3 separate regions of the Homo sapiens genome follow, and all the other regions are linked to region 2. Evidence: promoter capture Hi-C in human tissues and cell types (Jung and others, 2019). All regions are on one chromosome and are shown on one strand. The core of a region is centred on a gene start or on the middle of the fragment in contact, and the rest is flanking DNA. Distances in the headings are between cores, read along the strand shown. Region 1 overlaps LINC01426 (long intergenic non-protein coding RNA 1426). Region 2 holds the start of CBR3 (carbonyl reductase 3). Region 3 overlaps RUNX1 (RUNX family transcription factor 1).

Region 1 (2,757 bases), core at 108-2,607, 1.4 Mb after region 2:
ACCTTCTCTACCTGTACCTTCCATATCAAGGGGTTCAAGGAGCACTTGCTGATTGGCTGATTCCAAGCCTACTGAGTCATTAATATTACATCCTTCAATCCCGTAAGAATGTGGTGAGATCCAGGCTATGCTTGACCTGACCTGACAAGCTGCATGATTTAAGGGAAACAGCACTCGAGTCAAAGTAGACTACTGGAGCCAAGATCTGGTTAATTTGCATATGACTTTAGGCAGGTCACAGACCCTCTTGTAGCTTCAATTCTTACATCATAAAGTAAAGAAATCAGCTGAGGTTAGCAAATATTTATTGGGAGATCACTGCCATCTTGGAGCCTCAACACTGCAGTAAGACTCAGTGCCTGTCCTCAAGGCCTAGAGGACTGATGGAGGAGGGAAGCAAGATGGAGACAAGGTCTGCAGAAGGAGTCAGGAACCAAGTCAGAGGGCTCTCCATGGAGCTCTGGATCCCAGAAGAGGGCCACACCCATCCCATCCCACGGCTCATGGAAACCTCTCTATAGGAGAAGGATTTGAAGAGAAGGTATCTCAGCAAACAGAATAGGAGGAAAGAAGGTGTGACCTGGGACCCATAAGGGAAGCTCAGGCAGCAAGGATTACTGAAGTATCGAGCCTGGGATGGGAAGGAGTGGCGGGTGCAGCTGTGACTGTGCCCTTCCAAAGATCCAGCCAGCTCTGACTCTCCAGGTGTCTGTGTTCCACAGGATGGTGCAGCGAGAGCACAGGCCAGGTCAGGGACAATCGAAACAAAACGGGTTCCACTGAGGACCAGGACCAAGGAAAAGTTCCCTTTGCATCCACTGGGGACCTATGGCTGGGTAGGCAGGAGCCTTTCCTCTTCAGCCCGAGCTCTGCCAAGCCTTGCAGGAGCTGCATGCATGAGTGCAGAGGAGTTAAGGAGATGGTCCCTGGCACTTGAAACCCCATTCCCACCTCCAGCATCTTCACTGCATGATGTCCCTGGTGCCCAGGGCTCGTTCTCCCCTTAGGGACATGGGCCCACCTGAGATCTCTTCTGCTGTCCCCGCCTCCTAGGGTTAGCACTGCCTCTAGTGTTGGCATGCCCCACTGATCAGTGGCCTTACAGGGACCCAGTGGCCTTGCAGGGACTATGGTGCATGGCATTACCCTCATCTCATTTGATTCCCACCACAATCCTTCGAGGTAGTATCACTGCATGCATTTTACAGATGAGACAGTGAAGCTTAAAGCAGCTAATTGCCCCATGGTCCCAGAGTTAGTTAGTAGTAGAGCTAGGATTCGAATCTGGGTCTCTCCTCCCCAAGCCAGGGAGCTGAAGCAAGGTCTTTCTCTGCCTGGAAGAAAGGGCCTGTCCATTTGCTTGACAAACAGGTTGGCTATTCCAAGCTTTGTCCCAACCATCTTGGCCAGGCCACTGAGCTCCTCCCATATCCCAGCCCACCCCATTCATCCCCTAAATCCAAGGCCAGCTCCTCACCCTCCCCTGAGCATGGCTGGATCAGATGAGCAAAAGCAACAGCGCTCACAAGATTGCCCCACTTGGCTCCAGCAATTAATTAAGAGCCGTCTGAGAGCCTCCAAGGGGCCTGCAAGCTCCAGCAAGATGCGGCACACATGGCTCAATCCAAAATATTCACTGTGTTTTTCCCTAGCTGGGGAACCAGTCCTTACCTGTTACCTGAACCTGATTAAATGCCCAAGCCGCTCACTCTTGGTGCCAGCCAGGAGCCAGCCTGCTGGTCCTATGGAAGGTGGGGTGGTGGCTGGAAACTTGACAATGATAGTCATCCGTCAATAAATACGGCGTTGTTTATGGGCTATAACATGAAGCCTCCAGGGCCTGTGCCAGGCACTGCTTATTCTGGTCAACAGGCTGCTGGTACACAGGAGACCTATGGGCTCAGCTGGGGCATGGGAGGAGCCCGAGACTCAACCCAGAGGGGACCATGGGGAGGGCTGCTCTAGGCCATGTTGGGGGCCTCATCACCACCATTCTGGTTCCCAGGTGGTCCATCCTCCACCTGGCACCGGACAACCTGGGTCAGGTATATTTTGTTGTTATTCCTCTGCATAAGACCTTCCATTGCCTTCGCATATACAGTTGGGCCCTTGAATGTTGGAATCTGATTTAGACATAACACTTCCTTGGAAAGCTCATACACCAAGAAGAAAGACACCTGCTATGACGGTGGTGGACCATGGCCCCTCATAGTCTTAGACTTGTCTTAGGGATCAAGTGACTCTGTCCCACCCTGCAGCATAGTCTATGTTCTGCCAGCATTAAAATTAAAGTCCTACTGGCTCTCACTCCAAAATACATCCGAACCCATCCATTTTCTCCACCAACACCTAGACCAGGGAGAGCTCAGTAGCCCTTTTTGGTGAAGAGCCAGATAGTGCATACTTCAGGTGTTGTAGGGCAAGAGGCAAAATCAAACCTACTATGCAGTTACTTATTATTATTTTTTTTTTTTGAGACAGATCCTCACTCTGTCACCTAGGCTGGAGTGCAACGGTGCAATCTCAGCTCACTGCAATCTTCCCTGCCCGGGTTCAAGTGATTCTCCTGCCTCAGCCTCCCGAGTAGCTGAGATTACAGGTGCCTACCATCACACCCAGCTAATTTTTGTATTTTTAGTAGAGACAGGGTTTCACCATGTTGGCCAGGCTGGTCTTGAACTCCTGATATTAGGTGATCCACCTGCCTCGGCCTCCCAGAGTGCTGGGATTACACGCATGAGCCACGATGCCCTGCAG
Region 2 (2,909 bases), core at 1-2,500:
AGTAACTTTTTTTTTTTTTTCATACGGAGTCTCGCTCTGTCTCCCAGTCTGGAGTGCAGTGGCGCGATCTCGGCTCACTGCCTCCCAGGTTCAAGCGTTTCTCCTGCCTCGGCCTCCCAAAGTGCTGGCATTACAGGCGTGAGCCACTGCGCCCTCCTGTAATTTTCTTCAGTAGTAGTTAGAATAAGCAATCTCTTGATCCCCGCCCCTCTCCTTAAGGAAGATGCTTTTAAGACCACACGCACGTATTTTATAACAAACATAAGCTCCCCGGGCGGGGGTGGGGGAACGAGAAGGCTCGCTTCCTTTTTGCCAGAGCCTATCAAAGCTCTGCATTACACAAATTGTCAAGTCCACCAAGGGCAAGCGCGCGCTAATCCTGTTTTAGCGATTCATTTCCTTTCCCGAGCAAATGCCTCCGGGCATCTATGAATGCGCCCTTTCAAGGAAAGCGAAAGCCCAAAGCGAGCGGAGACCGTTTCTTTGCAGAGAAAATGTTTCTCGCGTTGGAAGGAAAGCTGATGAACTCTAGCAGGGCGTTGCCCCCTCCCAGGAGGCCAGTTTTCCTGCACACAACAGCGGCTGACAGTTCGGGGAGGGCCCCGGGCCGCGCACAGGCCCTCACAGGCCGGCGGGCGGGGCGCGCTGTTTGTCGCCCGGGCCCGCCTGGGGCTCAGCGAATCACGGAAAGCGAAAACCGCCTCGCGGGAGGCGTGGGCTGAGCGCATCCCTAGGGGTCGGCGCCACCCTCCTCGGTCACTCAAGTGGACGGGTGGGGAGCCTGCGGCTGGCCACCTCCGCACCCTCGGAGCGCTCCAGGGGGCCCCAACCCAAGCCCTGCACCTACTCTTGAAGGCGACGGCCGCGTTGTTGACCAGTACGTTGAGCCCCCCGTACTCCTTGCGCAGGAAGTCGCGCAGGGCGCGGATGCTCTGCAAGTCGTCGATGTCCAGTTGGTGGAAGCGCGGGCTCAGGCCCTCCGCCTGCAGCTGCTGCACGGCCGCCTGGCCCCGCGCCACGTCCCGCGCGGTGAGCACCACATCCCCAGAGAACTGTCGGCACAGTTCGCGCGCGATGGCCAAGCCGATGCCCCTGTTGGCCCCGGTCACCAGCGCCACGCGGCTGCAGGACGACATGGCTGAGCGGGGAGCGCGGGGCACCTGCGTGGAGGGCGGACCGGGCTTCGGACCACCTGGGGCGCGCCCCGAGGAGCCCAGCTAGTGTCAATGCCGCCGCGCAGACTAAGTTCTGGGATCCAGTGCTGCGAGTCTTAAAGAAAAAGGCCCCGGCTCCGGTCCCTCCCCTCCGAGGAGGGGCCGTCTGTGCCCTCTGTTCCAACTCCCGGGCCCGCCCCCTGCCCACGCTGCGCCCTTCAGGATCCGGGCTCTGAGCCGCGGGGTGATCTGCGAGGTGTCCGAAGCCAAATCGGACCTTGATGGGTCAGTCGGGGGCTCCAGATTCTTGGCAACTGGACTGAAGAAATTATTTTGGGAAAACCCCAAAGTGAGAAAAACAAGTGCTGAGTAATTTTCTTGGGTGTGCGCCCATCATGCACTGCAAAATGCGAATGTTTGCTTTTTCCTAAGATGCAGTGACTTACTTAGACACAGTAACTGCTTCTCTGGACATAGGTTGCCTTGCTTGCTTAAAAGGAACTCAAGAGAGGGAACTAGATGCCCTGTGAGCGCACTTAGCAGGTGTGGGCAGGCGACATCGCTCTGGGATTCCCAGTGAATGTGCCCCCAAGTGGGAGGGAATGTTTTTATTTAATCCTACCTAACTCCTACGGGTGCTAAAAGTGTCTGCATTTAGGTTTGTCCAGGGAGGATATAGATCTATAAAGATCTGGATTGATCATATGTTCTCACAGATCTGTGTACCGGCAAAGAAAGTTAAACCAAATTCCCAAAGGTGTGTCAAGCTGTGGGCACAAAATTAGAGTCTCATCCATCGTCTTCAGTGTAAACTGAGTTGTTTGATCAGTGACTTTGAGATTTGGGGAGAACCATGACATCATCACGACTCAGCCTTTTCCATGCAGAGCTGGCTAACCCGCCTGTGTCTCTGTTACTCTGACTCTACCTTCTCTCTCAAGTCCTTACTTGAGGTTCCGGAGGTGGGCCCCTGCTGTGATCTCCTACTGTGCCTCCCCCAGTATTTCCTTCTTTTTTCTCCTAAAGATCATTTGGTCCGGGCGCGGTGGCTCACACCTGTAATCCCAGCACTTTGGGAGGCTGAGGCGGGTGGATTACGCGGTCAGGAGTTCAAGACCAGCCTGACCAACATGGTGAAACCCCCATCTCTACTAAAAATACAAAAATTACCTGGGTGTGGTGGCACGTGCCTGTAATCCCAGCTACTTAGGAGGCTGAGGCAGGAGAACTGCTTGAACCCGGGAGGCGGAGGTTGCAGTAAACCGAGATTGCACCACTGCACTCCAACCTGTGCAACAGAGTGAGACTTTTCAAAAAAAAAAAAAAAGATCATTTGGAACCTTGTTTTAAGGATATGGGGCTATTTAGGCTTTCTATTTCTGTTTTTTTTTTTTTTTTTTTTTTTTTTAATAGGGTCTTCTCTGTCGCCCAGGCTGGAGTGCAGTGCTGCAGTCGTGGCTCACTGTAGCGTCAGTCTCCTGAGCTCAGGTGATCCTCCCCTTTAGCCTCCCTAGTAGCTGGGACTACAAGTGTGCCACAGTCATGCCTGGATAATTTTTTTTTTTTTTTTTTTTTTGAGACGGAGTTTTGCTCTGTCACCCAGGCTGGAGTGCAGTGGCACGATCTTGGCTCACTGCAACCTCCGAATCCTGGGTTCCAACGATTCTCCTGCCTCAGGCTCCTGAGTAGCTGGGATTACAGGCGCTGCCACTACACCCAGCTAATTTTTGTATTTTTAGTAGATACAGGGTTTCA
Region 3 (2,838 bases), core at 64-2,563, 1.3 Mb after region 2:
ACGAATATTCACTTTTTAAAAAAGTATTGTTGCGGTTATTTTTAAGCTTTATACAGTTTCCACACTTAGATTGTGATTTCTAAAACAAAACGAAATTTGCAGTTGGCTGTGTCTATAGATTGGCCTCTTTTTCCACTCACTTTTCTAAAAGCAGTTTTTTTTGTTTGTTTTGTTTTTTAGTGGGGGTGGAAATGAGGAGAAGGAACGAAGGAACGTGGTGGCTTGCTTGACTCTTTTTTCCCTCCCTCCGTTTACTTAGATTTGGGTTTGGGAGACCATTTTACTTTTAAATCATTCTAACCCTTTGCCTAAATGGACTCAGCGATGACTCTTTAGGGCACCCGCATTGAGAGGGGACCCAACAGGGTTGGGCCATGGGGTCACTATCAGATAAAGAGCAGAGGCAAGACGGGCTGATAACCACCAAAGGCCATTAAAACCTGGCTGCCCCAATGCACTAGGGCTCTAAGAGATTTGTGGCTTCCTTTTGGGGGGGAAATCAGGGTCTCTTCTGAACTCCCTCCTCTGCCAGGGAACCCACACTCAAATATATTAAAAGACTAAATGATTAATAAATAATCTTCAGGAATTGGAGCAATTCAGAGTCTCAAGCCATTACATGAAAGTATTTATTTTCTTCTAAAAAATGAAAAATTATACATATTGCTTTTATGAGCTGTCAGAATTCTTTCTAGCAGAAACCATAATAACCATAGAGTTTCCTTTTTAAAATGACTTTTGGCAATTCACTTAAAAACAATTAATTTGTTTTATTGAGTGATAATCTATAGGCTACTAAAAATCCAAATACAGAGCTCTTGAAAAAAGTTCAAGCAGATCCCCTGAGAACATTTAGGGGAAAGGAAAGGATAGCAGAGAAATCAGACCATTTGATTATTGTCTGTCACCACCCCAATCCTCATAAAAAGAGGCTTCTTCCTGGAGGAGACCTGCTCACTGCATAACTAGAAGAGTAGACAAAATGTTCAGTGAGACAGTAAACGTGAAGGGATAAAATGTTAGGGATAAAAGCAAGCAAAACATCAAAACCTGCCTACATCCCGGGCTCATTTAGTGTGTGTCCCTGGCTTCACTCTATCTGCCCACCCAACCACCTCACAAGCAGCTTCAACAGAAATTATTACTTTAAAATTTGGATCTTAAATAAGCCGCAGGCAATCTCCCTAGGAAGTTAACCAGTAAATAATTATTATATTCCCTATGGTAAAGAGAAGCAAATGTGAAACAATGATAAGGCCTGATGATATTGATGAAAAGATCACTGAAGGCCTTCTTAGGAATCTCCTGAAGTTCTGTAGGTAAATCCTCTACGTCAATCTTCTGAACTAAAGAGAGATTTAAAATTATGAATTTTCTTTAAAATAGATTACAATAACCCTACTTGCTTATTTTGAGCCCCAACCTGTTCTCCCCCTACTCCTTCCCTCCCATGGAACACCTTTATTTTTTACAGTATGAGAGATACATGTTTTTTACTACTAAGAAAACCTTAAGTTTGCTGTGTGTTTTGCTGTACTTACAGAATTAGCCTAAAAAGCTGTTTTGATGACTTAGGATGTATTTGGTAATACCATGGTGTTATAGCTTGTTCAGGCCCTGGTACACCAGAGTCCAAAGACGTAAACGTGCCTTCAGCAGGGAAGTTCGGAGGTCTTGGATTCTGATGGTAATATTCTTTTCATAAAAAGGAAATAAGTAATATTTTTGTCGGCAAGATCACAGTCCCTAGCTATGCCTTAAATATCATCTCAGCTGAATTCTGTGTTCCACTCCACAGCCTTCTTTGCAACACTGGAAGGTTAACGGATTTGAAGTAAATGAATTGTAACTGTAATTTCAACCTAATTAGAATTGGTTTAAAATGCCAGTTTGGACCGTGAACAGGCTAGCCAAGAACAGTATTGGGAGGTCCATGTAATATAGAAGAGAGTTGATATTTGGCCCAACTTCCTGATACTTTAAAAACAGAGAAGTAAAACAAAATATGAGATATCTTTGGCCAGCAAGTCCCTTCTTGCCTGTTTGGTCTGTGTTAAAATGTAAATGTTTGTGTTTCCTTACCTATTGTTTATAGCTTTTCATTCCAGTTGTTTCTTTTTTCTGTTTGAAGTTAGATATTTTTACATTCTCTCCATATTGCCCATCAGTGACAAAACCTGTATCAAATTAGCACGCATGTTAGTTTTGAATTAAAAAGAAACTTTTTAAACCTGGCTTAAGTATGCTTGTTAACAATTGGACGATATACAGTATTAATGAATTGCCCTGGATTTACTAGTTCCCCTTTACCCACCCGCCTCCACCAAAAAAAAACCCTCAGAGATCAATACAAGGCCAAGTGAATGATATGTAGGTGCCCAAATATGGTTGATTCTGCTGCATTTAAAAAAAAAGAGGAGTGGGAGTTAAACTTCTAATTTTTTTCTTCTTAAGTTCCAACATCAACAGCCTTTTCTTATTTAGCCTCCATGATAATTTTATTCTATGTTTGTTTCGACTTGGCGAAGGTCTCCTGAATTTGCCAAATTACCAATGAGGATAGTATTGGAAAGATGAGAGAGGCACAGGCTTGGAGCACTGTGAGGGGAACAGCAGTAGGAGGCAGATAATTCAGAATACATTCCTGTAGTTATAAAAGAAGATTTATTTATTTTCACCTTTTTACAGATCCAGACCCAACAATGAGTTATTCAGTTTGAAACCCACGTAGTGGAGGCAGTCTCTGTATACCTGCTGAATGTTGAGTTACAATAGAGAAGCCTGGGTTACCACAGGGAGAGGAGGATGAGGAAGTAAAAATATGTGTTCAAAGAGGGC

What was found. The method cuts DNA at HindIII sites, captures the fragments that hold promoters and counts their contacts. A contact is called where the count stands out against the background at its distance.
Region 1: a fragment that was not itself captured here is called in contact with the fragment with the promoter of CBR3 in region 2 in 1 of the 25 tissues and cell types used here (lymphoblastoid cells).
Region 3: a fragment that was not itself captured here is called in contact with the fragment with the promoter of CBR3 in region 2 in 1 of the 25 tissues and cell types used here (dorsolateral prefrontal cortex).

What each region holds. Positions count from the first base shown.
Region 1 is chr21:34,759,492-34,762,248 of GRCh38, reverse strand. All of the region lies in intron 1 of LINC01426 (long intergenic non-protein coding RNA 1426), which reads right to left. Among named protein-coding and RNA genes, the nearest start is that of LINC01426, 15 kb to the right of the region's middle. The HindIII fragment of the contact is 3,510 bases long and covers 1-2,757 here.
Region 2 is chr21:36,133,420-36,136,328 of GRCh38, reverse strand. It overlaps CBR3 (carbonyl reductase 3), which reads right to left and starts at 1,250. Exons shown (of 3, transcript NM_001236.4): 1 at 848-1,250. The coding sequence starts at 1,136. All of the region lies in intron 2 of CBR3-AS1 (CBR3 antisense RNA 1), which reads left to right. RefSeq lists enhancers at 276-445, 281-1,087, 1,088-1,895 and silencers at 596-765, 1,196-1,265. The HindIII fragment of the contact is 7,591 bases long and covers 1-2,909 here.
Region 3 is chr21:34,882,822-34,885,659 of GRCh38, reverse strand. The region is part of intron 4 of RUNX1 (RUNX family transcription factor 1); the gene reads left to right. It overlaps RUNX1-AS1 (RUNX1 antisense RNA 1), which reads right to left. Exons shown (of 2, transcript NR_186614.1): 2 at 608-2,177. Among named protein-coding and RNA genes, the nearest start is that of RUNX1-AS1, 48 kb to the right of the region's middle. RefSeq lists a silencer at 2,688-2,737. The HindIII fragment of the contact is 3,015 bases long and covers 1-2,820 here.